Linked DNA regions of Homo sapiens: region 1 is linked to region 2. The links are contacts of gene promoters, found by promoter capture Hi-C in blood cells and fetal thymus (Javierre and others, 2016). All regions are on one chromosome and are shown on one strand. The core of a region is centred on a gene start or on the middle of the fragment in contact, and the rest is flanking DNA. Distances in the headings are between cores, read along the strand shown. Region 1 has its middle 20 kb from the start of ENOX2. Region 2 holds the start of RBMX2 (RNA binding motif protein X-linked 2).

Evidence for each region. The method cuts DNA at HindIII sites, captures the fragments that hold promoters and counts their contacts. A CHiCAGO score of 5 or more calls a contact.
Region 1: a contact is called between a fragment that was not itself captured here and the fragment with the promoter of RBMX2 in region 2, in 7 of 17 cell types (monocytes, M1 macrophages, erythroblasts and 4 more). The highest score is 10.9, in monocytes.

What each region holds. Positions count from the first base shown.
Region 1 is chrX:130,920,386-130,926,649 of GRCh38, forward strand. No RefSeq gene overlaps it. Among named protein-coding and RNA genes, the nearest start is that of ENOX2, 20 kb to the left of the region's middle. The HindIII fragment of the contact is 1,911 bases long and covers 1,279-3,189 here.
Region 2 is chrX:130,398,277-130,403,947 of GRCh38, forward strand. RBMX2 (RNA binding motif protein X-linked 2) reads left to right here and starts at 3,711. Exons shown (of 6, transcript NM_016024.4): 1 at 3,711-3,761; 2 at 3,979-4,094; 3 at 5,526-5,577. The coding sequence starts at 3,757. The HindIII fragment of the contact is 29,468 bases long and covers 1-5,671 here.

The sequences.
Region 1 (6,264 bases), core at 984-3,483, 520 kb after region 2:
CAAAGTTGCTTCCACATTTTTGGGTATCTTTTCAGTAGCACCCCACTCTACTGGTACAATTTACTGTATTAGTCCTTTTTCATGCTGCCAATAAAGACATACCCGAGGCTGGGCATTTTACAAAAGAAAGAGGATTAATTGGACTTACAGTTCCATGTGGCTGGGGAAGCCTCACAATCATGGAGGAAGGCAAGGAGGAGAAAGTCACGTCTTACATGGATGGCAGCAGGCAAAGAGAGAGAGCTTTGGCAGGAGAACTCCTCTTTTTAAAACCATCAGATCTTGTGAGACTTATTCAGCATCATGAGAACAGCATGGGAAAGACTTGCCCCCATGATTCAATTACCTTTCACTGGGTCCCTCCCACAACACATGGAAATTCAAGATGAGATTTGGGTGGAAACACAGCCAAACCATATCACTCATATTTCTGATTCTTTCTTGTTATTGAGATGTAACATATATGGTAAAATGTACCAATCTCATGTACACCTTGACAAATTTTTATCGGATGTATGTCTGTATAACTAAAGTATATTCCAAAGTGGCTGCACCAAATTTATTCTCTTGCCAGCAATGTATCAAAAGTTAAGTTACTTCACATCCACAGCAACAGTATGGTCAGTACTTTAAATTTTAGCCATTCTGATTGGTGGGGGAGAAGGGTAGGTTAGCTGTACCTCTTTGTAGCCTTATATTTATCCAGTGAATAATGATGGGTGCATCATTTGGATGTCCATTTTGTATGCCTGTTATTTTAAAACTTTGTCAATCTATTCTTACTGATATATAAAAGTTTATTATATATGTTCTGAATATGTATCAGCATATATACAGATCTTCTTCCAGTCTGTGTCTGGCCCTTTTCCTCTTTATTTTTATCTTGTCTTTTGATTAAAAGATATTCTTAGCTTTAATGAAGCTCAATTTATCGCTTTTTTTGGCTATTTTTTTCTGTCCATTTAAGAAAGTTTTGCTTCCCTGAATATAATGAAAATATTCTTCTACTTTTCTTCTAGAATTAATTAATGTTTGTGTATGATGTGAGTTAGAGGTCAAGGTTAATTATTCCTTATGAGTATTCACTTTACCCAGAATTATCTTTTCACCACTGAGTAGTAGTGATGATTCTGTCATGAAGCAAGTTACTGTATGTGTAGATTTGTTTCCTAGCTGTCTGTTTTATTCCACTTGCCTGTTTATGGTTTTATCAATACCACACTGCTTAATTACTATAGCTTTATAATAATTATTGCTATCTAGTAGTATAAGTACTTAAGCTTGATAGTGTTGGAGGATAGTGTTAGGATAGTGTTGGAGGTGGTGGTTCTTCCTTTGCTTCTCCTTCTCTCGATACCTCCCCTTCCTTCCTCTTCCTCCTTTTTCTCTTCCTCCTTAATTTTCTTGGCTATTCTAAGTTTGTTGATTTTTCATACATGATTTTACATTGCCTTATCAATTTTTTGAAAGCTGCTGAGATTTTGAATAGTATTTTCATGAGTGCATACATCAAATTTGGAAGAATTGACATCTTTAATGATATTAAGTCTTCCTTCCATGAACCTGGCATATTAAATTTATTTAGGTCTTCTTCAGTTTCCTTGGCAGTATTTTGTAGTTTTCACTGTACAGATCTTATAAAAAATTTTGTAAAATTTATCCCTAATTGTTTTCTCTGTTTACATGCTGTTGTAAATAGAATTATCTTCTTAACATCATTTTTCATTTTTTTCATTGCTACTATACAGAAATATAATTGATATTTGTATATTGCCCTATTGTCCAGTGACCTTGCTAAATTCACCTATTAGTTCTAGTAGCTTTTTGGTAGGTTCCTTGAAATTTTCTGTGAGCATAATCATGTTGTTTGCAAATAAACAGTTTTAATTTATTCCTTTTGAATCTGTATTCCTTTTATCTCTTCTTCTTGCCTTATGGTGCTGACTAGGACTCCCAGTACAATGTTGAATAAAAGTGGTGGGAGTGGACATCATTGCCTTGTTGCTGATATTAGGGGGGAAGTATTCGATCTTTCACCATTGACTATGATGCTAGTTTTAGGTTTCATGTAATGTCCTTGATATAGTTTGGCTGTGTCCCCACCAAAACTCATCTTGAATTGCAGTTCCCATAATCTCCATGTGTCATGGGAGGGACCGGTTGGGAGGTAATTGAATCATTGGGGCAGCTTCCCTCTTGCTATTCTCATGACAGTGAGTAAGTTCTCGTGAGATCTGATCGTTTTATAAGGGGCTTCCCCCTTCGCTAGGCTCTCATTCTTCTCTCTCCTGCTGCTTTGTGAAGAAGGACATGTCTGCTTCCTCTTCCACCGTGATTGTAAGTTTTCTGAGGCCTCCCCAGCCCTGAGGAATTGTGAGTCAATTAAACCTCTTTCCTTTGTAAATTACCCAGTCTCAGGTTTGTTCTTATAGCAGCATGAGAACGGACTAATACAGTCCTCAATCAGGTTGAAGAAGTTGTATTCTATTCCTAATTGCTGAGATATGAATGCTGAATTTTATCAAGTGTGTTTTCTGCAAATGCTGAGATCATCATATAGATGTTCTCCTTTATTCCATTAATATGGCAAATTGCATTGATTTTCAAATGTTAAAGAATCTTTTATTAATGGGACAAACCCTACTTTGTCATAATATGTTATACTTTATATATATTGTTACTAAAGTACTAAATTCTGACTTTAAAAATTTTTTCAATTGTACATAAACTAACTTACTTACTTTCTCTCTCTCTCTCTCTCTCTCTCTCTCTCTCTCTCTTTTGAGACAGGGTCTTGCTCTGTCACCCATGCTGGAGTGCAGTGGTGTGATCATGGCTCACTGTGCAGCCTCAACCTCCACAGGTTCAGGTAATCCTCCCACCTCAACACCCCGAGTAGCTGGGACTATAGGCATATGCCACCATGCCTGGCTAATTTTTGTATTTTTTGTAGAGGTGGGGTTTCACCATGTTGCCCATGCTGTCTTGAACTCCTGAGCTCAAGTGATCCGCCTGCCTCAGCCTCCCAAAGTGCTGTGAATATGGGTGTGAGCCTTTAGTAAAAAGACAAAGACTTTCAAATTAGATTTTAAAAACACAACTCTGTGCTCCTTAAAAGAGACCCTTTGCCTAAAGCATGCAGGAAAGTCAAATATAAAATAGTGGAAAAAGGTGTCTGGCCTGTACATAAGCTTTCTATTGCAATGTTTTCTGTCCTTGTTATCATTTCCTTTCTTATATTTTCTTTAGGTTAATTTGTTTTACTAGCTTTTTGAGCAGGAAGATTAGATCGTTGATGTTCAACTTTTTTCATTTTAGTTCATGCATTTAAAACTTTAATCTTCCTACTGAAAACTGATCTAGCTGAATCTTACACTTTGATAGTTTATGTCAAAATAGATTATTCAATTCAAAATATTTTCAGCTTTCCACTGTATTTTTTTGACCTATCAATTATTTATAAGGTATTGCTTCATTTTCAAACAATTGAAGGTTTGGGGATATTTATTTAATATTGGTTTCTAGTTAATTTTCATTTTGGTTACAGAGCCTCTCCTATATTACTTCAGTCTTAACAATTTGTTGAAACTTGCTTCATCACTCAACATATGGTCTTTTTTGGGAAATGTTCTGTGAGCTCTCGAATATAGTGTGTTTTCTGCTATTTTTGCAAATGGTATTCTATGTATGTCGATTAGGTCGACTTCATCTGTTGTGTTGTTTATATCTTTATATAAGTACTGACTTTCTGCATTTTCTGATTTACTTTGAGAAATGTGTTAATTTTTCATACTACAGTTGTAGATTTGTCTATTTCTGCTTTGTTACATGAACTTATGTGTTATGTATTTAAAAATGTGAAATTTGGGGGGAGGGGGGAGGGATAGCATTGGGAGATATACCTAATGCTAGATGACGAGTTAGTGGGTGCAGCGCACCAGCATGGCACATGTATACATATGTAACTAACCTGCACAATGTGCACATGTACCCTAAAACTTAAAGTATAATAAAAAAAATGTGAAATTGTGTGCACAAACATTTATGATTTTTACATCTCCCTGTTGAGGTTGTATTATGCCCCTACGAACTAGTGATTTTTGTATCTTCCATTTAATTCTTTCTTAATCTTTGAATTCTGTTGTTGAATTCCTTTGCCATTATGAAATATCCTTCTTTCCGTAAGTATACTTTGAGTCATAATAATATAGCTATATCAACTTTCTTCTAGTTATTGCTTACATGGTGTGTATCTTTTCCCGCTCTTTTATATTTGACTTTCTTCCATGCTTTAGGCAAAGTGTCTCTTTTAAAGAGCACAGAGTTGTGTTTTTAAAATCTAACTTGAAAATCTTTGTCTTTTTACTAAATTGCTTATTCCATTTGCATTTCTAAATGTGTTGACTATAACTTATATATAATAAAGTGCACAAGTCTTAAGTGTGCAGCTTCATGAATGTTTATACATGTAAACACCTCGTAACCATGGCCGGACCAAGATATAGAATATTTTCAGCATCTAGCAGGCTCATTTTGCCCCTTCCCAGTTATCCTCATAGAAGACTACTATTCTGACTTCTATCATCATAAATTAGTTTTGTCAATTTTTAGTGTAATACTCACGGAATGACACAGTATGTACTCTTTAGTTCTACTTCTTTCATTCAATATATTTCAGTTAGATTCATCAATGTTGTTGCGTGTGCTAGTAGTCTATTTTTAATTTTTGTGTAGTATTCCATTATATGAATTTAACATTTATTCCATCTACTGTTAATGGAATTTTTGTTGTTTTCAGTTTGAGACTATTATGAATAAAATCAATGGGAACACTCTGTACATATCATTTTTAAATACATGTACTCATTTATCTTGGAAAATATATCTAGATATATAGCAAAATATATCTATTATTGCATCATAGGGCAGGCATATGGGTTATTTAAGTATTCTGTCAAATGTTTTTCCAACATAGTTAAAATTTTACTCACACCAGCAATGTATAAAAGTTCCAGGTGCACCACTTCCATGTTGACACTTACTATTGTCAGTATTTTTAATTTAAGTCATTCTTATGGTCATGTAGTTGTAACTCATTGGTGGACTTAAATTTACCTAATAATCATTGATGTTGAGCACTTTTTCAAATGCCCTATTGGCCATTTGGATATCTTTTTTTTTGAGAAATGCCTTTCAAGTATTTAGCTCATTGTTAAAAAAAATCAAGTTTATTGAATTATAAGTTACATAAAATAAAATGCACTAAGTTAAAGTGTACAGTTTGATGAATTTTGACAAATTTATTCACCTATGTAACCAACACAATTAAAATATAGGACATTTCCATCACTACCTCACCCCAAATTCCCTTGTGCCCCTGTGCAGTCAGTTCTTTCACCCCTAACTCCAGACAATCATTGATCTGTTTTTTTGTTATACTTTTCTTGTTCCAGAATTGCATATAAATGAAATTATATAGTTTGCACCCCTTTGTTTCTTACTTCTTTCACTCAGCAGAGTGTTTTTGAGATTTATCCATTTTGTTGCATGTTCCAGTAGTACATTCCTTTTAATTGCTGAATAGCATTCCATTGCATGGATATACAGAACATTGTGTATTCATTCACCTGTTGATAAACATTTGGGTTGTTTACAGTAAAAAACTGTTATGAATAAAGGTGCTATGACATTTGTGTACAAGTATTTGTGTATATATGTATGCTTCCATTTATATATATTTATATATATGCTTCCATATATATATATAAATGGAATATTTATATGGAAAATGGAAAATATATATGAAAAATATATATAAGGGAAGCATATATATATATATACACACAAATACTTGTGTGTAAATGTCATAGCACCTTTATTCATATCAGTAAAAAACTAGAAACAACCAAAATGTTTATCAACAGGTGAATGAATAAACAATGTATAAATATATATATATGCTTACATATACATATATACACACACATATATATATGTACACATATATATATACACACATATATACATATGCTTCCATTTCTTTTGGATAAATATGTTGGAGTTTAATTGCTGAGTTATATCATAAGTATATGTTTAACTTTGTAAAATGTTCTCAAACTTTTTTCCAAAGTGGTTATACGACTTAACATTCCCTTTATTGATGAGATTACTTGTGTTTTCATATCCTTGTCACCAGCAGTCTTTTTTTTTTTTTTTTTTTTTTTTGGAGACGGAGTCTTGCTCTGTTGCCCAGGCTGGAGTGCA
Region 2 (5,671 bases), core at 2,461-4,960:
ACATGTAAAGTACCTAGAACAGTGTCAGGTACATGGTAGGTACTAAGTAAGATTTTCTCAAATAAACAAAAATCTATCATTCTCCCCCTTGCCTACTCCTCTCCAGCCACACTGGCCTCCTTTCTGTTTCTGAAATACACTCAAAAGAGTGTCTCAGAACAATACTGTTTTACCAGACACTCACATGGCTTCCTCGCTGTCTTCCTGTGGTGGCACACGCCTGTAGTCCCAGCTACTTGGGAGGCTGAGGCAGGAGAATTGCTTGAACCTGGGAGGCGGAGGTTGCAGTGAGCCAAGATTGCACTACTGCACTACAGTCTGCGTGACAGAGTGAGACTCTGTCTCAAAAAAAAAAAATAAATAAATAAAAATAAAAATAAAAATAAAAAAAGGAAAATTCTAACCATATAGAAATGAACAAAGGGAAAATAAAATAAAGTCTTCTCTACCCCTACCCTCATCTGTTTTCCTAAAGGTAATCATAGTTGTGTGATTTTTCAATTTCATTAACCAGTAAGTATATTGGTTGCATTCTATGTATATAGGAAAATGTTCGAGGCTTGAGGTTCTGAGGGGCTTATAAATGCAGATCCTTTACCTTCCAGGATTTCATGGTCTTTCTGGGAGAAGAACATAAAGGAGTTCTGTAGTGTTACAGAGTTCAGAAGTGAGAGCCATCACTGTGGGCACATAAGATCGGGAAAGGTTTCCTGCATGATGAATGACTTGTTGGGGGCTTGGGGCTTGGGCAGATTTCAGTGAGAGAGAGGAGGGTGGTCCAGGGCTATGAGGCTCTCTCAGCAGAGGTGCCTAGGTGGGATGATGAAAGGGGCCTTCGAGGGAATGGATAGAAGTGGAGCCCGGCTTAAGTTGAGTTTTTTAGTGGGGGAGCAGTGACAGAAGAGAATGGAGAGTAGGGGCTGGGGCAGCTAGAAGAGTACTGAAAGAGCTAGGAGGCATGTACTAATGGCTCAGATAGGACTGTGACTGGAAGAGACACATTTTATAGATACTTCAATAGTACAATTGTTAGGACTTGGTGAGTGAATGGATATGTTGAGGTGAAGAATAGGGAAGACTGAAATATGAAACCCATGTTTTTGAGTATGGGCAACCAGGAAAATGGTGATAATATTGCCCAAAATAGGGAAGTCTGGAGGAAAAACTGTTTGGGGGTGTGGTGTGGTGGTGGGAAGTTGGGAGATGACTCTGGCTAGATAGTTCAGCCTTTCCTTGAATGTGGGGACTGCCTTTGACTACCTTAGCATTACCCTCAGAAGCTAGAACTAAATACTGCATAGAATATTTTCTAAATGGATGCTATTGGTGGAGATCACTTATAGCCACCTTGGATGCCAAACCCTCGTTCTACTTTCAGATGTTAGATTCAGAGGGTCCTCTGCATCCCCACCTCTTTTCAACTCAGACTTACGGGTATCTCTAGGCATCATCTTACCTACCAATTCCTGCCAAATGCAAGTACATCTATGGAAAATCCGACTTCCTTGCTTCGTTATTTACTTCAGGATCTCCTAGGGTGATCAACCATCATGGTTTGTTCTGGGGTTGCCAATTTTAGCTCCAAAAGTCAGAAGTCTCAGAAACCTCTCAGTTCCAGGAAAACTGGAGCAATATTCAGCTCTCTCACCTTCAGAATACCTCTGCTGAACCTACCAGCTGCATAGTAATAATAGCCTTCTCATGTTCTCAATCTAAATTGGTCTTATTCTACTCTTTTGCTCCAGCTTCTCTCGGAACACTGATGACTAATCCCCAGGTATAGTCTTAACTCTCTCATTTCACAGCCATTTGAAGAAGTCAGCAAGATAATGCTGCATGCTAGTTTACCACTCTGCAATGGCTACTTCAACCCACAACTAAGCAACCTGAGATTCCTAGGAGCAGATAAACCCCATGTGCAATCTGTCACTGTTTAGCTTTCATTGCCAAGATAATTTTACAAAGTTAATGAATAGCTGGGTTGGAATGGGGAGGGGGGAACAGACACAGAATGAATGAGGAGGAACTGTCATTGGTGGGCAGCCTCTGTTCTCCTTCTTGGCAGGACATTGGTTACATGGTGGGCCACTTGAGGGTACAGTTGTTATCATCATCAAAATGCTTTTATGAAGGACCTAATATCTGGTGCTCTGAGTTAGGCCGCACAGCTCTGGACTTTCACTTTTAGAACATCATAGTCCAAGAGCAGGTATTGATGTGGACACATGCAAAATGGATTCAAACTGTCAATATGGGTTAAATCACATATTATACATTAATAATCTCTTCCACTGGTTTCTAGATATTTCTGGTTGAAATCTATCAAGCAAATATATCTTGTCCCCTTAATTATAATATTAGCTCCTTGAAGGCAGAGGACCCACCCTGATACTCCTGTCTACAGACCTTAGCTGTACAGGACAAATCTAGATGTTCAGTAAGGACTGATTAAATCAACCTGACCTGACGGGTGCAGGTAGAGTACCTTTCAAGTTAATTTATTCCTTTGAGCCTCATTTCTTCCTCTACAAAATGAGGGTGGAAATTTTTTTTCTTTTCTTTCTTTTTTTTTTTAAATAAAAAGGAGTCTCACTCTGCTGCCCAGGCTAGAGTGCAGTGGTGCGATCTCAGCTCACTGCAATCTCTGCCTCCCAGGTTCAAGTGATTCTCCTGCCTCAGCCCCCTGAGTAGCTGAGATTACAGGCGTGTGACACCATGCCTGGCTAATTTTTGTATTTTTAGTAGAGACAGAGTTTCACCATCTTGGCCAGGCTGGTCTTGAACTCCCGACTTCAGGTGATCCACCCGTCTTAGCCTCCCAAAGTGTTGGGATGACAGGCATGAGCCACCACACTTGGCCCCCCTTTTTTTCCCTTTATTTTAGAGACAGGGTCTTGCTATGTTGCCCAGGATGGTCTCGAACTCCTGAGCTCAAGCAATCCTCCTACCTCAGCTTCCCAAAGTGCTGGGATTACAGGCTGAGCTGCTGTGCCCGGCTAGGGATTGTAATTTTCTCTGCTTTATTGGGTTGTTGTGAGGGTGGAGAGACAATACATGTAAATTGCTTAGTACATACTCTAGCATCGTATAGTACATCATCTGCTCAATTGTTAGCTATTAATTTAACAATATTAATTTCTGCCTCCTGCTCAACTAGGAGAGAGCCTATGGAAAAGAGTAAGTGCAGCAGTTCTCATGCAAATGTGTAGGTATTCGATTCAGCCTATAGAAGCACACTGGTCTGTTGCCTATGTATTGGGATAAGGACAACAGAAGATTTACCTTTTCACCTATCTTCTTCACTTTTCTGCCATGACAGGGATGCTTTGATGGGTCTGTGCTTTAGCAACTGACTAGGAGCGAAGGTCCAAGTGGGACTCTGGACTGGGAGCGAGGGCTGAGACTAAAGTCGCCACATCAGGCTGCTTGTTCCGTTCACTCAGCAAATATTTATAGCTAATCTAACCAGTTTCAGATATCGTTCAAGAGGTGGGGGTCCTGCAACAGCCCAGGCTTGTGCCTTTACCCCATTTCACAGAGAAGAAAAAGCGAAAAACTAGAGAAAAACCACCTCTCCAAGAGGTAACCGCACGCAGCGCGGAAGGCTGCTAGTGCGCAGGCGCCACGCCCCGGTACGCCCCGGCTCTTCCGGCGCGAGGTCACCGAATCGACTGGCCACTGGCGCCGGGGCCGCGCATGCGCTGCGCTGCCTTTCCCGGGCGCTGATTCCTGAGTGCTGAGCGCGAACCCGAGGAGATGAAGTAAGGCGTCAGCTTCCTTTTGAGGAAGGAGCAGCGGGCCACTGGGGGTGGTCCACCGGGACTGGTGTGGTAGAGCGTCTGCGGGGCCGAGGGGCGGGAGCGGCGCGGGGACTGGAACAGCTCGTCCCCTAGTTTTGCTCTTCCTCAGCTCCGGCCGGTTCGCACTTACTTGTCTGCTTTTCTGCCTACCCTCCCCACCCCCCCCGCCACCGTGAAGCCCTTTAACTAAGGTGAAGCTGATCAACGAGCTGAATGAACGAGAGGTCCAGCTTGGGGTGGCCGATAAGGTGTCCTGGCACTCCGAGTACAAGGACAGCGCCTGGATCTTCCTGGGTGAGGTCCACATCTTTCTTCCTCAGTGCTCTCCAGATTCTCCTGCTCGGTTTCCGACTATTTCGGCATTTTCACCCTTCACTCCTGCTTACATTCATCGCCCACCTTCATATCCATCTGCTGTCTGCCCGGGAATCCGTGTTACATCTCTTTTCTGCCCCATTTTTAGTTTTCCTTCCCTGCCAAATCAGTGCTCATGAGAGTTACTGTTTGCCATTTGCTGTGCTAAGGTTCAGGGACTGTTGTTATTTCTCTCTCACCCTCTGACCCATTATACTGCTGAGGAAATTGGGGTGCAGAGAAGTTAAGGGACTTCCTTAAGGTCACATAGCTAGTAAGCGCAACAGGCAGAACTATAGCATTCTAGAACTCTTGGTCTTAGCCACAGCTCCATATTGCTACCACCACCCTCCCCCATTCCCCTTCCCTTCCAGAATTCACTTTGCTCCTCTAGCTCCTGCTTTCTAGTCCATGGCCACGTTACCATTACTGTATTCACTTTATATCACAATCAGTAATTGTACAAGTTTGATGCTTCAAAGAGGTTATTGTACCAAACATTGTGCTAAGCACTTTATATACATCGTTTTATTTAACTCTTATAATAATCTTGCGAGTTACGTGCTAATATCCCCATCTTACAAATGAGGAAATAAATATTTGGAGGGGAAATTATTCCCTAGGAAATGCTTAACAGTGTCTTTATAACCTTTGTCTATGTGTAGGTGGGGTTAATCATGACATATGTAGACTGATTTTGTATCATAGCTGTAAATTTGTGGGTAATGAGCAGATGAATTCAACATGTTTGTGGAAGCAGAGGTTTGTGATGGAAACTATCTGCTTTGTCCATAGGATTTTGGGTGGCAGGAGGACTGAGTGATCAGATTAGTTTCGTTAGTGGTGACCCCGACTTCCACTCAAAATTAATTACTCCTTTTTCTGTACTACTGGCACCTTACATGTACTTCTGTCATTGAGTCAGACTTAATTTCTTTCTTTCTTTCTTTTTTTTGAGCTGGAGTTTCACTCTTGTCGCCCAGGCTGGAGTGCAATGGCACGATCTCGGCGCACTACAACCTCTGCCTCCTGGGTTCAAGCGAGTCTCCTGCTTCAGCCTCCTGAGTAGCTGGGATTACAGGTGCCCGCCACCTCACCTGGCTGATTTTTTTTTGTATTTTTAGTAGAGCCGGGGTTTCGCCATGTTGGACAGGCTGGTCTCGAACACCTGACCTCAGGTGATCCACCCTCCTCAGCCTCCCAAAGTGTTGGGATTACAGGCGTGAGCCACGGTGCCCAGCCCAGACTTGATTTCTTTAAGGGCAGGGCCTGTTGCTTACTGTTTCCACCCCTAGTGCCTGGCCTAGTGCGTGGTATGTAGTAAACACTTGGTAAATGTTGGTGGAACTGAAATGTGGTTTTCTCTTCTAGGAGGGCTTCCTTATGAACTGACTGAAGGGGACATCATCTGTGTGTTCTCACAGTAAGTGTCCTTTCATTTCCTGCCTCCTGAGTCGACAGAGTACTTTGTTTCTGTAATACATTTTGTGGCATCACAAAAACCACTTATTTTCACT